Regions from separate parts of the Homo sapiens genome. Here all the other regions are linked to region 3. The links are contacts of gene promoters, found by promoter capture Hi-C in blood cells and fetal thymus (Javierre and others, 2016). All regions are on one chromosome and are shown on one strand. Each heading gives the region's core, a stretch centred on a gene start or on the middle of the fragment in contact. The rest is flanking DNA. Distances are from core to core; before and after follow the strand shown. Region 1 has its middle 14 kb from the start of FBXO2. Region 2 holds the start of FBXO6 (F-box protein 6). Region 3 holds the start of EXOSC10 (exosome component 10). Region 4 holds the start of C1orf167 (chromosome 1 open reading frame 167). Region 5 holds the start of NPPA (natriuretic peptide A). Region 6 overlaps CLCN6 (chloride voltage-gated channel 6).

What was found. Contacts are between HindIII fragments. The CHiCAGO score rates a contact against its expected background, and 5 or more counts as called.
Region 1: a fragment that was not itself captured here is called in contact with the fragment with the promoter of EXOSC10 in region 3 in 7 of 17 cell types (endothelial precursors, naive B cells, fetal thymus and 4 more); the score reaches 8.6 in endothelial precursors.
Region 2: the fragment with the promoter of FBXO6 here is called in contact with the fragment with the promoter of EXOSC10 in region 3 in 11 of 17 cell types (naive B cells, activated CD4 T cells, M1 macrophages and 8 more); the score reaches 9.1 in naive B cells.
Region 4: the fragment with the promoter of C1orf167 here is called in contact with the fragment with the promoter of EXOSC10 in region 3 in 4 of 17 cell types (M0 macrophages, erythroblasts, naive B cells and 1 more); the score reaches 7.6 in M0 macrophages.
Region 5: a contact is called between the fragment with the promoter of NPPA here and the fragment with the promoter of EXOSC10 in region 3, in 2 of 17 cell types (naive B cells and total B cells). The highest score is 8.4, in naive B cells.
Region 6: a contact is called between a fragment that was not itself captured here and the fragment with the promoter of EXOSC10 in region 3, in 1 of 17 cell types (erythroblasts). The highest score is 5.7, in erythroblasts.

What each region holds. Positions count from the first base shown.
Region 1 is chr1:11,638,604-11,642,475 of GRCh38, forward strand. No RefSeq gene overlaps it. Among named protein-coding and RNA genes, the nearest start is that of FBXO2, 14 kb to the right of the region's middle. The HindIII fragment of the contact is 793 bases long and covers 1,429-2,221 here.
Region 2 is chr1:11,662,115-11,665,819 of GRCh38, forward strand. FBXO6 (F-box protein 6) reads left to right here and starts at 2,086. Exons shown (of 6, transcript NM_018438.6): 1 at 2,086-2,141. It overlaps FBXO44 (F-box protein 44), which reads left to right. Exons shown (of 6, transcript NM_033182.7): 6 at 1-1,213. RefSeq lists silencers at 2,152-2,371, 2,422-2,491 and an enhancer at 2,612-2,661. The HindIII fragment of the contact is 5,022 bases long and covers 583-3,705 here.
Region 3 is chr1:11,097,695-11,101,388 of GRCh38, forward strand. EXOSC10 (exosome component 10) reads right to left here and starts at 2,175. Exons shown (of 25, transcript NM_001001998.3): 1 at 2,027-2,175; 2 at 326-462. The coding sequence starts at 2,137. EXOSC10-AS1 (EXOSC10 antisense RNA 1) reads left to right here and starts at 1,981. Exons shown (of 2, transcript NR_135062.1): 1 at 1,981-2,120. RefSeq lists enhancers at 1,341-1,903, 1,555-1,614, 1,904-2,464 and a silencer at 1,516-1,717. The HindIII fragment of the contact is 4,706 bases long and covers 995-3,694 here.
Region 4 is chr1:11,760,346-11,764,101 of GRCh38, forward strand. It overlaps C1orf167 (chromosome 1 open reading frame 167), which reads left to right and starts at 1,848. Exons shown (of 21, transcript NM_001010881.2): 1 at 1,848-1,960. It also overlaps the pseudogene LOC101060126. The HindIII fragment of the contact is 5,648 bases long and covers 82-3,756 here.
Region 5 is chr1:11,846,527-11,850,248 of GRCh38, forward strand. It overlaps NPPA (natriuretic peptide A), which reads right to left and starts at 1,257. Exons shown (of 3, transcript NM_006172.4): 1 at 1,036-1,257; 2 at 587-913. The coding sequence starts at 1,158. It also overlaps NPPA-AS1. RefSeq lists an enhancer at 293-2,083. The HindIII fragment of the contact is 12,440 bases long and covers 1-3,722 here.
Region 6 is chr1:11,817,190-11,820,866 of GRCh38, forward strand. CLCN6 (chloride voltage-gated channel 6) reads left to right here. Exons shown (of 23, transcript NM_001286.5): 5 at 2,299-2,365. Among named protein-coding and RNA genes, the nearest start is that of CLCN6, 13 kb to the left of the region's middle. The HindIII fragment of the contact is 361 bases long and covers 1,461-1,821 here.

The DNA of each region.
Region 1 (3,872 bases), core at 575-3,074, 540 kb after region 3:
CTCTGCAGTGCAGAATTCATCGGATGAGGTGCCTGCTTTTCGGGGAATAATTCATTTTTCCTGTGTCGGAGAGGAAAGTAATTGATCCAAGGGGTTGATGCCTCCTCCCTCCTGCTCTCCCTCCCCGGGACAGTCTGATTCCAAATGCAGACCCGAGACTGTTAGGTCAAAGTCGCAGCAATAAATAGGAGTGGGGACTTCTGCTTTAATATATTGGATTATTCCACTTGGTGGTGACGAAAAACAAGATTTAATTCCCCAAGAAATGCCAGCCGAGAAAATCATTTTCCCTGCCGGCTTCCCCCTTCCTTTTTTTTTTTTTTTTTTTTTTTTTAGTTTTCTTTTTTTCGAGGACATCTTTGTCTTTCTGCAGCTTTGAGGGCCTCTCTACACCCTGCCCCACTGGAGACCTCCCCACACACTGCCCACAGCGTCTGGGGGCCTGTTTTTCTGTCCTAGAACATATTCAGGATGTTTTCCTCCCACCCTCTCAATCATAGGTCCCTGAGCACAGAGATTTCTATTCGAATCCAGATGCTACTACAGTGCTTCGCACATTGAAAAATTATGACAATAAGCCCCAGGAAAAGGCCAGTTAGTACTGCAGCTCCCAGTGACAGCCCAGGAAGCTACAAGCTGGCTAGGGAAGTAATTCACCCTCCTACCATCACTTGGGTCAAGAGTCCATGGACCGCCTCCTCCAGGAAACCTTCCTGATCAAGGTCTATGTTAGATGTCCCTCCTCTAAAATTCAGTAGGCTTCCCCTCACCACCCTTTTACTATTATTAGACTATAGTTGCCAGACTTGTCCATTTTATTTAACAAACTTGTATGTAGCACCTTTTATGTGCAGGCCTTGATCTAAGTGTCTTACCTATATTAATTCATTTGATTCTCATAACAATCCTATCAGGTAAGTAACAAAATCATCCCCATTTTACAGATGTGGAAACTGAGGCACTAACTGGTCACACACCTGGGGAGGGTCAGAACTGGGAACCCAGATCCTTCTCTCCCTCTAGTCTGTGAGCTCCTAGAGGACAAGGACCTCATTGGTTCACTGTTGTATCCTCAAAGCATAACAAGGTGCTGACACGCAGAAGGTGCTGAGTAAATGCTTAAGTGACCGGGCACAGTGGCTCACGCCTGTAATCCCGACACTTTGGGAGGTCGAGGCGGGCGGATCACTTGAGGCCGGGAGTTCGAGACCAGCCTGACCAACATGGTGAAACCCCATCTCTACTAAAAATACAAAAAACAGCCAGGTGTGGTGGTGCACACCTGTAATCCCAGCTACTTGGAGGCTGAGGCAGGTGAATCACCTGAATCTGGGAGGTGGAGGTTACAGTGAGCCAAGATCATGCCACTGCACTCCAGCCAGGGAAACAGAGTGAGATTTCGTCTCAAAAAAAAAAAAAAAAAAAAAAAGCTTAAGTGGTAAATCCTTCCACATATGAACCAAAGATCAATTCCTGAGGCTGAGTCTAAGTGTGTGATTTGTGGGACACAGAAAACTCCACCAATTCCAACTGAACCCGGAAGCCCACGGCCTCCACCACAATTCCTGTCTGCACAGAGGACTAGAATCCCTCCGCAAGAATCACTTCACCCAGGAAAGCCTGCAGGTGGTGACAGGGGGCGAGGAGAGGCAGCTCTGGAGGGGATTCCAGCCATGCAAAGCCCTTGCTGTGTGACCTGGGGCGAGAATGCACGTCTCTGGGCCTCAGTTTCATCTCAGCCTCTGAAATGGGAATAATAGCACACAGATGTGCTTGGAGGATTAAATAAAACCATACACAGGTGATGTTTTGAACACACCTATCACATGGTGAGTGCTCAGCGTGTGCTGAGATAGCATAGATTGTAAAACTGGACTTTGAGGCTACTTTTGCCATGCTCAGAAAATAAAAAAAAATAAAAAAAAATTAAAAAAAAAAACCTCATCAATCCGAGTAAATGAAGCAAACTTAGATCTGGATGGGAGGGTAGAGTTTTCTTCACAGTAGTAGTGAGGTAGGTGAGTTGCCAAGAATTACCAAGAAGAATTTCACAAATCACACACAATCCATTTACTTCTGGGAGTTATCAGGATGTGGGAGAGTCTGAAACGGAACTTACTGGACCAGAAATAGCATTTGATGAGCGTTTCATTCATCCGGCCAGCACACACTGAATGCCTTCCATGTGCACGAAGCAATGTGCAGATGAGGAAAGGGCTCAAGCTTTGGGGGCCATGGCGACAGAAGCCCCGTCCCAGCCAACTCTGCAGCCTACAGCTTGGTGACCTCGACCAAGGGCCCCACCTCTCTGAGCCTCGGTTTCCTCTTCAATAAATTTTGTGATGACAAAATAAAGCCTCCCGAGGAGGCTGCTGTAGGCAGTCGATGAGATAATGCAGCAGTAGACCAACAAATGTTGGTTCCCTCACCTTCTGGCAACGGCCCACAGCAGTCAGGCCACTCCATTCAGCTTCACTGTCTTGTTCCAAGAATCTAGTGGGTGCAGGAACTGGAGGCACATTAGTGCCTGGGAGTATCAAACCAGGTTGGCAGGTGAGGATCGTAGGTTCCATTTGTGTGGTTGAGGACAAGGGGCAAAGCCAGGTGAAGCCCAAGTGTTTCTGTCTCTAATTATTTTTATTTTTATTTTAGAGAAAATCTCACTGCCACCCAGGCTGGAGTGCAGTGGTGCGATCTCTGCTCACTGCAACCTCCATCTCCCAGGTTCAAGCGATTCTCATGCCTCAGCCTCCCAAGTAGCTGGGACTACAGGCGTGTGCCACCAGGCTCAGCTAATTGTTTTGTATTTTTGGTAGAGACGGGGTTTCACCATGTTGCCCAGGCTGGTCTGGAACTCCTGACCTCAAGCAATCCACCCGCCTCAGCCTCCCAAAGTGCTGGGATTACAGGCGTGAGCCACCGCGCCTGGCCATGTTTCTGTCTCTAAACCCAAGCTGTTAACACTGGACAAATGGCCTCCCTGATTCCTAGGAGAGGAAGGGAGGAAAAAAAGCAGAGTGGGGAGGAAGCCAGAGACCCCTGAATGCAGCTTCATTCATCAAAGGTGACCGCAGAAAGGCAGGGGAAGGTCCCAGGGGGCCTCGGATGGACATGGTCAGGGGAAGGTCCCAGGGGGCCTCGGATGGACATGGTCAGGTGGCTGGGAACTTCCACAGCGTTCCCCTCCACGCCTTAGAAACATCACCTCTGTGAGTGATTCCAAGCTCTTTGCACCCTCCTCCTTGGTGCCAGCCCCCTCCTTCATTCTGGCAGTTCTCCCTAACATCTACCTGCAATATTTCCTGCTGCATGACCAGCAGACCCCAGTGGCAACCCTAGCGAATGGCCCTCAGCCCTGTTCCATCCTGTCTGCAGAGCTCCTAGCAAGCAGCTCCTGGCTCCAGGCAGTAATCCTACTGACAATTAATTGGCTTTTGTTGGAGGAGAATGAATACCATCTCATCTTAATCTTCTTCATTATTCTCCTTGTTCAGCAGAGTCAACACAAGATTAGGTTTAATTTACGGTGGTGGGAAATAGCAAAGTCATTATGCACCAGGAACTCAGGATTGGATCTGTCTGGGTGTTCTGTGTTCACTGCAGGCCTGGCACCATCAAGCAAGGCCCAGGGCTCTGCCGAGGTGGAGATGGACTTGGGGGGGTTCTAGACTCCCAGACCTACTTGGAGCTAGATCCCAGGATACCACCAGCCCTCCCTAGTTGGGAGGGGCCCAGCTCTGGAGGGGAGTCCAGCCATCCAAAGCCCTTGCTATGTGGCCTGGGGTGAGACCCAGGGGCCTCCCAGGCCTTGGAGACCTAGCCTCCTAAATGTTTCTCATACAGCCTCTGGGGTCAGAGCAGCACCAAATCCC
Region 2 (3,705 bases), core at 836-3,335, 560 kb after region 3:
CTCTGGCTTGGAGAGCATTCCAAGCCCCCACCCCACCCCTAGAACTGCCATTCCCAAGACCTCTGTCTCCCAGCCAACCACCCTTGGAACTTGCCTCTTGTCCTGCTGGAAAGATAGCAGTGTTCTCCTGACTTCGCCCTACTGCATGCAGCCAAATAAAAGGTGTGCCCAGTCTAACCTGTGCCCTGTGGTTTCTGGAAGGAAAGGCAGACTTTAGGTGGTCCTGCCTGGACCTGCAGATGGTACAATGGCATGGCTTCTGTCTAAGGTACAGAGGGGTTGGCATTTCAGGAACCAGGCCATCACAGAAACAGGTTCATGGGCAGACCCCTCAGTGAGCTGCAGGTATCTCACCTGGCAGCCGTCCAGTACTGCTGGCTTCCTCTGGAGGCCCAGCCACAGGCTGGGGTTGGGGTGTGTGGACATCTCTGGGCAGCTCTTGAGTCCACCTTGTGCCAGATCAGCAGTGCCACCCAGGCTCTGCCTCCTGGTGTTACTCTTTGCCAACAGCTTTACGGACATTGGATGAAGCCGAAGCATTTAGAATGGTGCCTGGCACACAGTTGGTGCGTGATATGGTTAAGCTTTGTGTCCCCACCCACATCTCATCTTGAATGGTAATCCTGGGTGTTTAGGGAGAGACCTGGTGGGAAGTGATTGGATTATGGGAGCGGTTTTCCCCCATGCTGTTCTCATGATAGTGAGTGAGTTCTCACGAGATCTGATGGTTTTACAAGTGACGGTTTCCCCGGCTCCCTCCTGCCGCCATGTGAAGAAGGTCGTTGCTTCCCCTTCACCTTCCACCACCATGATTGTAAGTTCCTTTTTTCTTTTCTTTTCTTTTTTTTTTTTTTTTTTTTGAGATGGAGTCTCGCTCTGTCGCCCAGGCTGGAGTGCAGTGGCGCAATCTCAGCTCACTGCAAGCTCTGCCTCCCAGGTTCGCGCCATTCACCTGCCTCAGCCTCTGGAGTAGCTGAGACTACAGGCGCCCACCACCATGCCCGGCTAATTTTGTTTGTATTTTTAGTAGAGATGGAGTTTCACCATGTTGGCCAGGGTGGTCTCAATCTCCTGACCTCGTGATCCACCCACCTCGACCTCCCAAAGTGCTGAGATTACAGGCGTGAGCCACCGCGCCCAGCGATTGTTTCTTGAGGCTTCCCCAGCCATATGGAACTATAAGTCAATTAAACCTCTTTCCTTTTATAAATCACCCAGTCTCGGGTATTTCTTTATAGCAGTGTGAACATGGACTATAATCCAGTGCTCAATAAGTACTCCTCACATTTAGCTATCTCAGTCAAGGGTGAGCTAGATAAGGGCTTTGGCCAGGGCAGGATCACCACCCACCAGCCCATGGCAAACTGCAAAAGGACGGCCTTCCACGGAGAACATGTAGCCCTGACTGCAATTAATGTGTCCTGGGCCAGTCCCCTTGTGCAGTACACAGCCTGCACAACCCTTGGTGGTTGCCTGAACAAGGTGCTTGCTAAATATTTGTTGACTGATGGAAGAAATTCATGAACTTAATCCTGATAAAAAACCTCAGAGGTTTTTTATTTTTTGAGACAAGGTCTGGCTCTGTCGCCCAGGCTGCAGTGCAGTGGTACAGTCTCCACTCACTGCAGCCTCCCAGGTTCAAGCGATTCTCCCACCTCAGCCTCCGGAGGAGCTGGGATTATAGACCTGTGCCACCACGCCCGGCTAATTTTTGTATATTTAGTAGAGACAGGGTTTTTGCCATGTTGGCCAGGCTGGTCTCGAACTCCTGACCTCAAGCGATCCTCCCCACCTCGGCCTCCCAAAGTGCTGGGATCACAGGCGTTAGCCACCTCCTAGCACCTCAGGTTTTTTACCTTTGAGTCTATGAAGCCTGCGGAGGTCACGCCCTAGGGAAAGAAGGAGCCCACTGGGTGTCAGGTCCTGCCTCTAGGGAGGGGACCGCGGGTCAAGGGTGGAGCCCTGGGCCGCATAAGGAAGGAACTAGTGCGGAGGTCCGGGGAGCGGCCGCGCGTTCGGGAGCTTCGGCCCTGCGTAGGAGGCGGGTGCAGGTGTGGGTGCTGAGCCGCCCGCCGCCTGGAGGGGGAGACAGCTTCAGGACACGCAGGCCGCAGCGAGGGCCCGGGCCCTGGGGATCCCAGGTTCGTCTTCCCGCGGCGAGGGTTAGGGGCCGGGCCGAGAGGGACGGCAGCGGGGTCCGGGGCGGGGGTGGGGACCGAGCGCAGCGCGTGACGCGGCGGCGGGGCCCAGCGACAACGAAGCCGAGGCCGTAGGCTCGGGCCGACCTGGAGCTCCGCCGCTGCGCCCAGGTCGCGTCCCCGGGGGGACGGGCGGCGGGCGAGTGGGGAGCCGGGGTCTCCGGCGCCTGGGCGTTCACGGAGCCTGCGGGCGCTGGTCCGGGCGGCCAGGGGTGGGGGGCGCGGGCGGCTGGGCCCGGACTTCGACTGGGGGCCTGGCCCCGGGGCCACCCAGGCGGAGGCTCTGCGGCCGCCTCCACCCCGGCCACATCCCGAGGCCGGCGCCGGGTTCGGAGAACTGTCAAGGGACCTCCAGGCCCCCACACGCCTGCGAGATCCGGCGCTTGCCTTGCCCCAGCCACAGTTTCTGTTTCCGAGAAACCGGTGAAGTAACAATGCCACTAGAGCTTGCTGGGAGGGTGGGTGCGGAGAAGGCGAGCACGAGACGCCGGGCCGGGCAGTTGGGGACCCCGATCGGTGTGAGAGGGCTTCCTAGGGCTGGCATGGACTTCCCCACCACAAAATGCCCAGGGCCGGGGGGGGGAAGGGGCGCAAGAAAATGCGGACTGGGCCAGAGACCAGACTTCGGTCACCACGGTGGGAAGCTATTGGTGCCTAGATGCCTCTAGCTTGGAGCCCAGTGACTTTTATTTCGTCTAGAGTCTAGACAGTGCCTTTAGAAGCTGCCAGCATTTATTTATTTATTTATTTATGGCAGAGTCTTGCTCTGTCACCCAGGCTGGAGTGCAGTGGCATGATCACGGCTCACTGCAGCCTCGACTTCCTGGGCTCAAGCGTTCCTCCTGCCTCAGCCTCCTGCATAGCTGGGACTACAGGCACGGGCCACCAGGCCTAGCTAATTTCTTTTTTTTTTTTTTTTTTTTTTTTTTTGAGACGGAGTGTCGCTCTGTCGCCCAGGCTGGAGTGCAGTGGCGCGATCTCAGCTCACTGCAAGCTCCGCCTCCCGGGTTCAGGCCGTCCTCCTGCCTCAGCCTCCCGAGTAGCTGGGACTACAGGCACCTGCTTCTCGAGTAGCTGGGACTACAGGCACCTGCAACCAAGCCCGGCTAATTTTTTGTATTTTTAGTAGAGATGGAGTTTCACTGTGTTAGCCAGGACGGTCTCGATCTCCTAACCTCGTGATCCGCCCACCTCGGCCTCCCAAAGTGCTGGGATTACAGGCGTGAGCCACCGCGCCCGGCCTTTTTTTTTTTTTTTTTTTTTTTTGAGACAGATTCTCACTCTGTTGCCCAGGCTGGAGTGCAGTGGCACGATCTCGGCTCACTGCAACCTCCGCTTCCCGGGTTCAGGTGATTCTCCTGCCTCACCCTCCCGAGTAGCTGGGACTACAGGCGTCCGCCACCACGCCCAGCTAATTTTTGTATTTTTAGTAGAGACGGGGTTTCGCCATATTGGCCAGGCTGGTCTCGAACTCCTGATCTTGTGATCCGCCCGCCTCGGCCTACCG
Region 3 (3,694 bases), core at 925-3,424:
CAGCCTGGGCAATAGAGCGAGACTCCGTCTCAAAAAAAAAAAAGAATCTTGGCTCTAAGTGTTCACGTCCCATTTAATTAAAAAAGATTTGTACAAAAGTCAATATATTTTTTCAGTACAAAAGTCAATACATTTTTTAAAGGCTAAACTAAAAATATACCAAGTAATATTTCCCTAATCAAAATCCATTGCTTCAATTTTCACATTTTATAGCTCTTCATACCACAGAAAATGTTTAAGGAAAAATAAATTTCAGGAAAAATTTATCTACTTCTTTGTTTTCATTTCTTTTCACTAACACAAGAAAACAAAGTACAGTACTTACCACTGAAGCAACCTGTCTCCCTGTGTTTCGCAAAATGCTTGGAAGCCAGGAAAACTTCGGTAAAAATCATACTCATCGCCAAACTGTGGTAGGCCCCCAGATGCCTTGGTGACTGCCACCACGGACCCAAGAGCAAACTGTCAAAAACAAGAAAAGATGGCATGTTTACACAGGGATCCCCATTCATTTGGTATGTCATTTTTTTGATCTATCGTATACAAGGTATCTACTCTTCATCCATCAAAAAAAGCACTCATTTAGTGCCAAACCCCAATCTAATCTAGGCCCTGAGAATACAATACTGAACAGGAAACCAAGTTTGGAGCTTATATTCTTGGGAGAGTTGAGAGACAGAATACATACGTATATAATCTGATTAATATTCACAAATACCTGGGGTTGAATCTTGACTCTGCTACGTATTAACTGAGATCTTGGACAAGTGATTGCTTTATTTGGACTTTAGTGTTCTCCTCTGAGAAACAGGAAAAATAAAAAGGGCCTGCACCACAGAGTTTTTGTGAGGACAGAATGAATAAGCTAATAAAAGCACTTAGGACAGTTCTTGGCACATAAGCGTTATTATTACGACTCAAGTTCAGATCCAAGAGCTTTCTACAGGAATTTGTTTTTGTGTTTTCATCTGGATGAGCATCTAAAAACAATACAAGCTTATCCTAGATCCTTGGACGACAAATTTATAACAGCTACTATCTAAAACTGGATTTGTGTTTATTGTTCAGTTAGTGTCAAGTGGTTCTCTATTTTAACTGTTGTGAGGTAACGAAAAAAAGCCGTGAAGTGACATAAATGATGGCTGATCATGTGAAGGCCTAAAACGTCATTGTGAGTTTTGTGAATAAACATTTCCCAAGAAAAAAGCAGAGAAAGGAGGTGGGAAATTAAGTCACGGAGGGGAACATGGTAGCTTATGAGCATGACCGCCACACAACCAGGACCACAGTTAGTGGTCCAGGAACTATTGAGAGCCATGTTAATGAATCAATAGCATTAGCTAACAGCAAATTAGATAAGATACAACGTTAGTGGAATTTCTGTAAATTTATAGGGTTAATTTACAAATTATTTTAGTTTCATTGCTTTGTAAGAGCTATGCACACCTTAAGCCTAGTTGTACGTTTGCTCATATTTAAGCTAAGTTATACAAAGATCTTAAGTGAACGCCCTGTATACCTTCCAGGAGTTACTAATAAACGTGCAATGGGGCTTTAACAGGTGACATTTAACTCAGGGTTAAAAATTATGTAGGACTGGACTTCAGAAACAGAGGAAGAGAAGGGCCATACTGGCCGCGGGAGGAGACAACTCCAGGCAAGTGTGGGGAGCGCGAAGAAGCCGAGCCCCTGCGGAGAGCTGGTCGGGTGGCTAGGGCGTGGCGAGCGCGACGTCGCAAGGGCTAGGGACGTCTGGGTGGCAAGGAAGCCTTTCCCAGGATGCGAGACGGCTTTCCACATTTGGGCCTCCATGGACTTAGGCTCGCAAGCGGGACGCCCCTCAGTGTCCGTTTCCGAGGCCCCATCCCCGGAGGGTGCAGGAGAGTCTGCGCCCAGCGCGGACAGGGGCCCCGCGACCCTCGCTCGGGCTCCACTACGGCGGGCGGGCATTGGCTGCCCAGAGGGCCCAGTCGGCTTCCGGCGGCCGCGGGCGACTCCTGGTACCCCCGAGGCCCCGCGAACTCACCTTCACAAAGCTGTCGGCGTCCGGGAAGCCTGGCAGCACCATCTCTCCGTCGGATTTGGTTGCGCTGGTCGCCGACAGGACCCTGGGCTCCCGGGTACTGGGTGGCGCCATTTTTTCAGCCTGCACGGCTCGTCTCGCGAGAGCTTGTCGGCCGAGGAGACGGGACGCGTGCGCACCACGCATGCGCCAGGTCGAAGCGGCGGGCGGGGCGTCTGATTATAGTGTGGGGAGCCTGCGATTGGGGTGGGGCGCCTGCGATTAGGTTGGGAAGCCTGCGTTTAGGGTGGGGCACCTGCGATTAGGTTGGGAAGCCTGCGATTAGGTTGGGAAGCCTGCGATTAGGGTGGCACTTTCGAGCGCTCTGGTGTGAATTTCACGTTCTTTTACCTCATATTGTATCATCCCAACAACCCTGTGATCTAGGGTGCGGCCTGGAGGACCTGACTATCACATATATTTTTGACACGAGGTTTGCCCAATCTGGTTTCGAACTCTTGGGCTCAAGAGATCCTCCCACCTTAGCCTGCGAAGTAGCAGGGACCCCAGGCGAGGGCCACGATCCCCGCTTATCCTCGTGTTTATTTAAAAATTTAAAAAACAAACAAACCGGGATTACCGGGAGTGGTGGTGCGCATCTGTAGTCCCAGCTGCTCGGGAGGCTGAGGTGGGATGGTTGCTTGAGCCGAGGAGGTGGAGGCTCCACTGCACTCCAGCCGGGGTGACAGGATGAAACCCTGTCTCAAAAATTTCTTTTTAAGGTTATGTTTTTGAGGCTGGGCGCCGTGACTCACACCTGTAATCCCAGCACTTTAGGAGGCCGAGGCGGGTGGATCACCTGAGGTCGGGAGTTGGAGACCAGCCTGGCCAACATGGTGAAACTCTGTCTATACTAAAAACACAAAAATTAGTCGGGCGTGGTGGCACATGCCTGTAATCCCAGCTACTCGGGAGGCTGAGGCTTGAGCCCGGGAGGTGGAGGTTACAGTGAGCCGAGATCGAACCACTGCATTCCAGCCTGGGCAACAGAGTGAGACCTTGTCACAAACAAACAAAAAAAACCATGTTTTTGGGACAAAGTTTCACTCTTGCTCTCCCAAAGTGCTGGGATTACAGATACGAGTCATCAGCGTGCAGCCTATTTTTATTTTTATTTTTTTTGAGATGGAGTCTCACTCTGTTGCCCAGGCTGGAGTGCAGTGACGCAATCTTGGCTCACTGCAACCTCCCGCCTCCCGGGTTCAACGAATTCTCTTGCCTCAGCCTCCCGAGTAGCTGGGATTACAGGCGTGCACCACCACGCTCGGCTAATTTTTTTCGTATTTTTAGTAGAAACGGGGTTTCACCATATTGGCCAGGCTGGTCTCGAACTCCTCACCTTGTGATCCTCCCGCCTCGACCTCCCAGAGTGCTGGGATTACAGGCGGAGCCACCGTGCCTGCCCTGTTTATTTTTTTTTTTTGAGACAGAGTCTCACTCTGCTGCCCAGGCTGGAGTGCAGTGGTGCAATCTCAGCTCACTGCAACCTCCGCTTCCTAGGTTCAAGTAGCTGGGATTACAGGCGTGTGCCACAATGCCCGGCTAATTTTTTTTTTTTTTTTGTATTTTTAGTAGAGATGGGGTTTCACCATGTTGGCCAGGCTGGTCTTGAACTCCTGACCTCAAGTGATC
Region 4 (3,756 bases), core at 598-3,097, 660 kb after region 3:
CAAAGGTTTGGGAGGTGGAAAGTGGACGGACCTTTGCAGCCTTGAAGGAAGTGTGATCGAGCTAGGCTGACGGCACGGCAAAGCTTGGGTATTAAGGTGGAGTCCAGCCAGTTTCTGAGGTGCCTGAAGGCTGGGAGAGTTTTTCTTTCTTTTTTTTCTTTTCTTTTCTTTCTTTTTTTCTTTTTTGAAACAGAATCTCACTCTGTCACCCAGGCTGGAGGGTAGTGGCATGATCACCACTCACTGCAACCTCCACCTCCCAGGTCCAAGCAATTCTCCTGCCTCAGCCTCCTGAATAGCTGGGATTACAGGTGCACACCATCACACCAGCTACTTTTTGTATTTTTAATAGAGATGGGATTTTGCCATGTTGGCCAGGCTGGTCTTGAACTCCTGACCTCAAGTGATCCGGCTGCCTCGGCCTCCCAAAGTGCTGGGATTACAGGCATGAGCCACCACATCCAGCCTTTTCTTTTCTTTTCTTTTTTTCTTTTTTTTTTTTTTTTTTTTTTGAGACAGAGTCTTGGTCTGTTGCTCAGGCTGGAGTGCAATGGCAGGATCTTGGCTCTCTGCAACCCTTGCCTCCCAGGTTCAAGTGATTCTCCTGCCTCAGCCTCCTGAGTAGCTGGGATTACAGGTGCCCGCCACCATGCCCGGCTAATTTTTGTATTTTTAGTAGAGACAGGGTTTCACCATGTTGGCCAGGCTGGTCTTGAACTCCTGATCTTGTGATCCGTCCACCTCAGCCTCCCAAAGTGCTGGGATTACAGGTGTGAGCCACTGTGCCTAGCCTTTCTTTCTTTCTTTCTTTTAACAAGAAATTTGTTATAGTTTTATTTTCCTTTGCATTTGCAAAATACTTAGGACCAACATGAAAAAGAAATACCTTCTATGGGGAAAAAAATGGCATTAAAAAGGAAGATGGGAAGGCTGAAAGGGATTTGTGCCTTAGTTGCAAGGAGCTGCAGCATCTCTGGTCCAAGGAATCAAAAAGATATTGGGAAGATATAACAGGAGGAAGAAGAATGTGAATTTACTGAGGGAGAGGGCCCCAAAGTGGGCCTTGAGGGGGAACTGGAGGCCCCGGAGTGGGTCTGGGTGGAGGGAGAGTCCCCCCCGGAAGCCATAGGGTGGGTGTTGGGGAGGGCCAGTGTATCCATGAGGCAGCATCGGTGGAGGAGGTCCACACATACCATGGAGGCATAGGACGTGAGTGACCCATGGGAGATCCAGACCGAGACCCCTTGGGGGACATGCTCATTGGAGGAGGTCCAGGATGAGGCATTCCAGGTGGTGATCAGGGTGGTGGCTGCCCCCCAGATCCTGGGGTCCCATCACGGGTGTGTCCTCAGCCATGAGGGCCATGGTTTGCCAGCTGCATCTGAGACATCCCTGGATGGGACATCGCACCTATTGGGAACGGGTGAGGATGTGAGTGTCCATGACCCGGATGTCCTGCCCCTGGGGTTCCTACCAGTGGGAGCCGGGGGCATGTCCTGCAGCCCCAAGAGGCATAGGTGGTGGGGACATGGCTGGGGGTATCCCAGATGTGCGGGGGCTCCAGGAGGCAGCTCTAGGTGCGGGAAGGAGCCAAGAGGAGGCACGCCTGGTGGAGGAAGCCCAGACCCCAGTGATGCTGCCACAGGATTCGGGGCAGAGGGTGGAGGAGGTTCCCGGGGACCTGATGGCCAAGAGAATGTCGCTCATCTTGCACGTGCAAAAGTTGCCCTGGGACCACGTGCCTTGCCTGCGGAGGACCCGGCAAAACCTGTACCAGGACGTCGGTGGCCACGCCCACGGCTCAGGGCTGGGCGGGGCCAAGCGCGGGGCAGCACGCTCTGCTCTCCGACGTCCCCTCCCGCCCGCGACCTGCCGACCTGCGGGGATCGTTAGCGGTCCCAGCCCCCGTCTAGATTCAAATCCGACTGGGTGAAGGAGGACCCGAGGAGGACCCACGCACGTGAGGGCAGATCCATGAGGGCAGGAAACTGACCTCAGACTCTTTTGGTGGCAAGAGGAGGGAGGCTGTGAGCCCCCTTAAGTGGACAGGGGTGGGGGTGGAGTGGGAGGGGGGAGTCTGAGGGAGACGGACGAGGAGCGGAGAAATGGACCGAAGAGCTCCGGCGTGAGGGGCAGGGGTGCAGGAAGGTCTCCTGTGGATTGAGCGGCCTCAAGTCAACTTGGGCAAGAGGGGATGGTGGGGTGTTCTTGGTTAGGAGTCTGCGCTGTGGAGCCAGCCCTGGGGTGCTCCCTCTGAGGCCTTGGGTGGGACAGGCCCTTCTAAGCTCCTGTCCTCATTTCTAAAACAGGGAACCTAAGTCCCAGGGCTGCAGTGCAGATTAAATGGCAGGACGCCTGCTGAAGGCTGCAAGGTGCCTAGCACGGTTGTCATTTATTCAATGTGCATTTACAAGCCCCTGCTGGGGGTCAGGCATTGTTCTATGGGCTGCAAATCCAGCAGGGAAACAAACAAACAAAAAAAACCAGCCTGCCCTCGTGTGGCTCCTAGGCCACTGGAGGGAGAAATACACTAATTTCTTCACTATGTTAGGTGGCCGCAAGTGCAGGGCAAAGAGAGTGAGGAGAGGCCAGGTTGCTGCAGTTGGAGAGACAGTGGGCAGGGAGGGCTCACTGTGATGTGGGAGGCAAGACTTGAAGGCAGAGGGGACAGCAGCACAGAGGCGCTGAGGTGAGGTCGTGTGTGCCATTTGGAGGAGCAGCCAGGGGGCTGGTGTGTGTGGAGGACAGTGGGCAAGGGGAAGAGGAATTGGGGAGGACCATAACTGGCAGCCAGATTTTAAAGACTTTGCGGGGCTGGGTGTGGTGGCTCACGCCTGTAATCCCAGCACTTTGGGAGGCCGAGGCGGGCCAATCACCTGAGGTCAGGAGTTCGAGACCATCCTGGCCATCATGGTGAAACCCTGTCTCTACCAAAAAATAGAAAAATTAGTCTGGCGTGGTGGCATGTGCCTGTGGTTCCAGCTTGTTAGAGGCTGAGGTGGGAGGATCCCTTGAGCCCAGGGAGGCAGGCGGAGGTTGCAGTGAGCCGGGATCACGCCATTGTACCAGCCTGGGTGGCAAAGTGAGACTCCGGCTCAAAAAAAAAAAAAAAAAGGTTTTGCAGCCTAAGGTATCTTGCAGCTATTGAGCTCTGCTATTGCAGCTGGAAAGCAGACAGTCTGTAAACAAATGGGCTTTGTTTCAATATAACTTTATTCACATAATAGACCACTGGCCCAGGCAGTAATTTGCTAACCTCTGGCCTACAGCCTTGAAGGCTCACGGGGCATTGAGGGGGCTGGAGAGCTTCTGTGGCATTAGAGTTGAGGCAGGGCATGATTTGATTTCAGTGTTTACAGGATCACCCTGCCGCCGCATGAAGAGGAGGCTGTCGGGCGTGAGGACGAGGCAGAATAAGGGTGACCAGTTGGGAGGTGGCAGGTGAGGGCCACTCCGCCCAGTGCTCCAGGGGTCAGATCCTGGATGCGTGTGGGAGGCAGAGCCTGTCAGAGCAGCCACTGGTGTGAGGGAGAAGGGGAATCGGGGTGGCTCCAGGATTTTTGTTTGAGCCACCAGAAGGCCGGAGCTGCCATCCGTGGAAAAGGGGGGCACCAAGATGGGAGAGAGCTGGTTGCGAGGACGGCTGGAGTTCAGTTTTGGACATATTAATGCTGAGATGCCTGTTAGACATCCGGGTAGGCGTGGAGGAGGTCGCTGGACCTGCATGTTCAGACCTGTATGCAGATCAGCCGAGAG
Region 5 (3,722 bases), core at 7-2,506, 750 kb after region 3:
AGCCAGGATGGTCTCCATCTCCTGACCTCGTGATCCACCCGCCTTGGCCTCCCAAAGCGCTGGGATTACAGGCGTGAGCCACCGTGCCTGGCCTTTTTTTTTTTTTTTTGAGACAGTCTCGCTCTATCACCTAGGCTGGACTGCAGTGGCGTGATCTCTGCTCACTGCAACCTCTGCCTCCTGGGTTCAAGTGATTCTCCTGCCTCAGCCTCCCAAGTAGCTGAGAGTACAGGTGCCCGCCACCACACCCAGCTAATTTTTGTATTTTTAGTAGAGCTGGGGTTTCACCATGTTGGCCAGGATAGTCTTGATCTCTTGACCTCATGATCCGCCTGCCTCGGCCTCCCAAAGTGCTGGGATTACAGGCGTGAGCCACTGTGCCCAGCCCCCCCCCCTTTTTTTTTTAAGCATTTTCTCAGCAGACTAGCTAAGGACAATAGATGGCATGTCCTGACACCCATGGGGCACTCTGGGTGTTGGGGCAGAAACTTGAGAGGGAATGAGCTTCTGCATTGGTCCCTTTCCTGCTGAAGGTGTCTCCCAGTAGTGTCCATCCCATCCCATTTCCATCCCCAGTTCCTCTTACCCGGAAGCTGTTACAGCCCAGTCCGCTCTGGGCTCCAATCCTGTCCATCCTGCCCCCGAAGCAGCTGGATCTCCGCAGGCTCCGAGGGGCAGTGAGCAGCGCCCTCAGCTTGCTTTTTAGGAGGGCAGATCGATCAGAGGAGTCCCAGGGGCCCCGCCCGAGGGCACCTCCATCTCTCTGGGCTGGGCTGACTTCCCCGGTCCAGGGAGGCACCTCAGGGAGGGGGCTGAGAGCAGCCCCCGCTTCTTCATTCGGCTCACTGAGCACTTGTGGGGGCACGACCTCATCTTCTAAAGGCATCTTTTCTTCCAAATGGTCCAGCAAATTCTTTAGAAAAGGAAAATACAGGGAAAGGGATAAACCTCACTGACTTGGAGGAAATCAAGAGGAGTGAGCACAGCATCAGAAAGCCCCCTGGCCCCAGACTGCACCCGCTTTCCTGGCCCTACCTTGAAATCCATCAGGTCTGCGTTGGACACGGCATTGTACATGGGATTAGCTCTGGTCTGACCTAGGAGCTGGAATGCCAGTAAAAGGAGGAAGCTCACGGTGGTGGTGGAGAAGGAGCTCATGCTGGCGTCGTCAAGGAGCAATCCACTGCTTGCTGCTCTGTCTCTCCCCTCTGGTTCCTCTCTGGTTCCCCTCTCTTGGCCTACGTCTGTCCCTGTCTCCCAGCTGCCCAGTGCCGCCTCTTTTTATAGCCCCCCAGCTCTCCAAGCACGCAGGAGAGACAGAACCCTCCCCATTCTGTCACTTGCAGTGATAAAGCTGCCAAGTGAGAAGCCAGCAGGAGATGCCCTTTTAAAGTTATCATCCCGCAGGGCTTGTCACAGCCCCTCTCTGCCTTGGGCAGCCCCAACAGCCCCCCAGACCCTCAGCTGCAAGAGCCGCATTCTTACTGATTTGACTCAAGAGGCTCCCACTTCAAAGGTGTGAGAAGAGTAAAAAAGAGTCCTTGGTTATCTCACCGCCGTGCCTCAGGATTCTTTCTCCTCGACGCTGGTACCCGTGCGGGGAAACAGAGGGTGACGCTTGGCTGGTGCCCAGCTCCCCTGGTTTGTTTGTGGCTCAGCTGTCAGGGCCTCCAAATAAGGGTGGAGAGGAGGAAATGGCAGGCAGCCAGCAGCCCGAGACAAATGGATCCAGATGCTCAAGCTGGCCTCACACCTGCCTCATCCGCCACGTGGGCAGACCTCTGGCCTCAGACAGGGCTGCCTTCACCCCTGGCAGTCCCTCTCCATGGTCAGGCGAAAGGAAGTTATTTTTTAGTATATAAAGTCAGCTGAGAACCAAATGTGATGAAGCTCCCAGGAATCCAACCCCCAAATAGAAATAGCAAGAAAAGGCGGGGGAGCACAAGCATCCTCTCTCCAAAGCTCCTCCTCTTCCATGTCCCCCGCGACCCTCCTCCAGCATGCTGCGGGGACAGGCTTAGAGGACGCAGCCAATTTCATTTCTTCCGTTGCTGTTTATAGATGCTCAGACTCTTCGTGTCTGAAGTTTGTTAACATCCCCCTGCCCTTCCTGGGCTTGTGCCCGTGGCAACTTGACCGATGGAGGAAGGGAGGTGGGGGTGAAGGAGGTATAGTCAGTTTCCCTCAATGCCTTCTACATCCTTCCCTGAGGACGTGGCAAGTGGCAAGTGACCGAGCCACCAAGGTCACAATTTCCCTGGCCCCCAAAAGGGAAATAACAGGCAGCAAGTCTGTCTATGTTTAATGAATGGCCTGTTTGCTAAGCACTGAACTCAGTGTTAGCCATTACCATTCAATGCAACGTATACTGGGGGAAAACTCTAAATTTGAAGGGCTGAGAGACCAGTACTGTAGCCCAAAACAAACCAGTTGCATACCTCTTCGCAGCCTTACTTTCCTTGTGTGTAAAATGAGAAAGAATGTTAAAAACCGGCCGGGTGCAGTGGCTCACACGTATAATCCCAGCACTTTGGGAGGCTAAGGTGGGTGGATCACCTGAGGCCAGGAGTTTGAGACCAGCCCTACCAACATGGCAAAACTCTGTCTCTACTAAAAATATAAAAATTAGCTGGGTGTGGTGGCATGTGCCTGTAATCCCCGCTACTAGGGAGGCTGAGGTAAAAGAATTGCTTGACCTTGGGAGGCGGAGGTTGTAGTGAACCAAGATCGCACCACTGCACTCTAGCCTGGGCAACAGAGTGGGACTCGGTCTCAAAAAATAAATAAATAAATGAATGAATAAAGTAGAAATCTTCCCTGCCTACCTTGCAGGATTGTTGTGGAGCCCAAGTGAGCTGAGAACGTGTCAACACATAACAAGTGTGCAGTGCTGAGTCCCTGCAAGATGGCCATCATAGTTGTCTTTATTGGTTGCTTGTAGCATGCCTAGCACTGTGCTGAGAACTTTATGGAAATGATTTTATTTTGATCACCATCCCCAGGTGGTAGATAGCATTGTCCTTGCTTACAAGGGAACAGAACTGAGCCCGAGAGGCTATGCCACTTGCCCAAGGCCACTAGGTGCCTAAGTGGCGGAACCAGGACTGGATCCCCAGGTCTGACGCTGATGTCTGTATCCTAGCCTATTTCACGTAGAGAGCTGCCACCTTACCTCTTAGCTGCATTCCCCAATTAAACCCCCATTCCCCATCTTTCAGATGCCCCAAGGGAGCTCCTTCACCTTCCCCATGCCCCTGGGGCTGTAGCTTTTTTGTGCACTTACCAAGTCTGTGTGTGTTGGCTGCTCTCCTGATCTATTTCTACACCGAATGTGTTTTAATCCACTCCTTAGAAGCTCAGAAAATGTGTGTTGAGTGACCAGCTCTGTCCTGGCTGGCCAGATCTGTCCCCAGGTGTGCTGACCTCATGACTGACCAGGTGAACAGGACGTTGTGCAGCCATAAGGTTGGAAATCAGGGCAGCAAGTGACTAGAGGTCACAAGAGGTATCCAGGGTGATATTATTCTAAGATAAGATAAAAGGGACCCTCTTTGGCAAGCCTTGGGGTTTGTCTGTAGGTGGGGATCTAATATTTCATGGGGTGGTTAGAAGCAGCCTGTAGGAGTGAGAGAGAAGAAAAGTAACAGGCACAGAAAGCCAGGCCCACCTCCATCCCCACCTCTTCCACGGCTGAAAAATCAAAAGCCTTTTATTTCCTTATC
Region 6 (3,677 bases), core at 391-2,890, 720 kb after region 3:
TTGGGTGATCCTCCTACCTCAGCCTCCCGAGTGGTTAGGACTCTAGGCAGGCATGAGATCGCTCTTTAGGGAAAAAGCGAAGTCGTGGGTACGGAACTGTGAACATCGTGCCCTTCATTTAGCACAGCGTGCCAGTGAACAGGGTGGCACACCATAGCTATTGATCTCATGCAGGGAGTTTATGGTGCTATCCTGGGCTCCTCCCCGTACGTCGTTAATGTTATCTAGAAGATAGAGCCAGCAGCTGTGAGTGAAGGGATATGCCCGTATGAACAGAGTTGGTGGAGGCAGCAACTTCACAGGTGAATCAAAGACAAGGCAAGATTGGAAACATGGCCAAAGATGAGGATAGCAAAAAGTCTGGAACCAAAACTGCCGACTTCACATTGTTAAATATGAGGAAGAGAAGCTGGAAAAATCAGCATCAGTCAAAAAGATCCATGTCAAATCTGATTCCGGTCAGTACAGTGTTGGGATAGGGTATCTGTCCTCAGTAACAGCCTGTTGACCACCTTTATCTTGAACTGGCCACAAGCCTCCTACTTAATTTGACATGATATGCCTAGAAAATGTACACATGTGTTCGGTATAATATAGCCACAGGGGCCAACCACAATTTTTATTTTCATGGCATGCATCAAATTTTTACTATAGTAAATCCACAAGTAAAGGAACATCTTACTAGGTAAGACTGATGGCATTCAGAAGCCCTCTTCAGTGATATTCTGATGGATACCATTTTGGGGAAACTTGGGTTGATTTATTGTTTTATTTAAATCTCAGGGTGTTGGGCCAGGGACGGTGGCTCACACCTGTAATCCCAGCATTTTGAGAGGCCGAGACAGGAGGACTGCTTGAGCCCAGGAGTTTGAGACCAGCCTGGGCAACGTAGGGAGACCCTGTCTCCTTAAAAATAAAAAAAAAATTAAAAAAAAGAAATCTCAGGGTATTTATTTTGCTATATATGTTTCTGGTTGCAGATTTCTCTATAATAAGCATAGTCCTTAGGCCTCTAGTTGTTAGTGTTTGTGCTACTTTTATATCAAACTCTTTGGAGCTGCCACTTGTCAGTACTACAGGTTGAGTGTTCCTTATCAGAAAATCCAAAATGCTCCAAAATCCAAAACTTTTTGAATGCTGACACGATTCTCAGGAAATACTCATTGGCGCATTCAGATTTTGGATTTCAAATTTTTGGATTTGGGATGTTTAATCAGTATAATGTAGATATTCGAAAAAAAAATCTGAAATCCAAAACACTTCTGGTCCCAAGCATTTCAGATAAGTGTTACTCAAGCTGAAGCAACTTTACCTCCTACCTTTGTATTTTAGGAAGGCACACCTGCCTTTATGACATAGCACTCCCAACTCTTGTCCATTGATGTGTGGCCACTTTATGGCTTCAGTATCAAAAAGCCTCCAGGCATTGGCTTGAGGGAAGGCCAGAGTTAAAGGCAAGAAGCTTTGATCCTGAATCCATAAAATTAGAAGTCTTTCTAGTTCTCCTTTAAGCCCTGAGCACTTTGGAGAGTGGAATACTGGAATTTGGTTGTTTTCTCTACCCAGAGTAACTATGGACTATAAGATGGTTATAAGTCAAGCCTGGCACAGTGGGGTGTGCCTGTAATCCCAGCTACCTGGGAGGCTGAGGCAGGAGGATCTCTTAAACCCTGGAGTTCAAGGCCAGCCTAGGCAATATAGCAAGACCCCATCTCAAAAAAAGATGATTTCAAGTCAAAATAATGACTTACAAAATAGAACCTGCTAATAAGGAACATGCAAAAAGCACATACACCTAAATGAATGTTGTGTTTTAAAGCAAGCTTGTCCAACCCATGGCCCAACACAGATTCATATACCTTTTAAAAACATTTATGAGATTTTTCTGAGTTTTTCTTTTCTTAGCTCATCAGCTGTCATTAGTGTATTTTATGTGTGGCCAAAGACAATTCTTCTTCCAGTGTGGTCCAGGGAAGCCAAAAGAGTAGACACCCCTGTGTCAGTAGTCTTTCTTGGTCTCACATCTTTTTCTGCACCTGCTTCCCTCTTTGTTTTCCGTTGCTTCACTCAACTTAGCTGTACTCTCTGCCTTTGTTCTTTGGAGGGGCAGTGGGACTGGGCTGGAGAAGGGATCTCCTCCTTCTGCGCTTTTCTGCTGTGCATTCACGTACTGCTGGCTGGTGAGCAGCCTCCGTATGTGCAGTGGGGGAGGAGATGCCTTCAAGAGGAGCACACCTGTACTATACTTGTGCTACACTTGGAAATAAGGCTGTGTGACAGATCTCTTGCTCTTCACAGGTGGGTCTCTTTGTGGACTTTTTTGTGCGACTCTTCACCCAACTCAAGTTCGGAGTGGTACAGACATGTATCCTTTTCACGGTTCCTGGTGTTCGTGGACTTCAGTGGTCACCAAGATTCTTTCTTACATAGAAATGGGTCTAACAGTAAGCATAGTATTAGAAGGGCCGCTTATTAGCTATTCAGCTTTAATATTTCTAATGATCACTGAAGGACACAAAAGAAGGACTTTAATAAGCAAAGACATATACCTATGTTTGTGGTTGATAAGATTACAGATGCCGCAAAGATGCCTGTACTCCCTAATCTGTAAATTTAATGTAGTTCCAATCAAAATTCCAATAGAATTTGTTGTGGAACTCAGAAATTCTTTGTAAATTTGTGTAGAAGAGTAAAGGGCCAAAAGCAGTCAGTATAGTTCTAAATGACAAGAAGGTGGACTTGACCCTGTCAGATATCAAGTCTTATAAAATTAACAAGTTTGGGGAGTTAGGGAAAAAAAAGTCATAAAATTTAAGATACAGTCATTGAAATTGGTCATATTGGTGCAGGAATACCTAGACAGTGGAAAATGATAGAGAAGCAGAAGCTGGTCCTCACATACATGGAACTTTGGTGAATGACAGTTAATATTACAAATCAGTGAGGGAGTGATGAATGATTTAATAAAAGACGCTGTGTTATTTAATAAATAAAAGATACACATCTCTGTAGTCCCAGCTACTTAGGAGGTGAGCCCAGGAGTTTGAGGCTGTAATGCACCATGACTGTGCCTGGGCAGCATAGCAAGACCCTGTCTTAAAAAAAATGATGCTGGGACATGGGTGATCCATATGGAAAAATAGTTATATTCCTATTTCATACTATAAATAAGATAAATTCCAGATGAAGATGTAAATATGCAGAACAAAACTTCGGGAGACTATATGTTGTCAAGAGTGGGGAATAATTTCTTAAAACTCCAGAAGGCACAGACTATAAGAAAAAACATCAATGGGGCCGGACACAGTGGCTCACGCCTGTAATCCCAGCATTTTGGGAGGCAGAGGCAGGCGGATCACAAGGTCAGGAGATTGAGACCATCCTGGCTAACACGGTGAAACCCCGTCTCTACTAAAAATACAAAAAAATTAGCTGGGCGTGGCGGTGTGCGCCTGTAGTCCCAGATGCTGGGGAGGCTGAGGCAGGAGAATGGCATGAACCTGGGAGGCGGAGCTTGCAGTAAGCCAAGATCACGCCACTGCACTCCAGCCTGGGTGACAGAGCAAGACTCCGTCTCAAAAACAAACAAACAAAAACATCAATGGCTGGGTGCAGTGGCTCATGCCTGTAATCTCAGGACTTTGGGAGGCCGAGGCAGGCAGATCACCTGAGGTCAG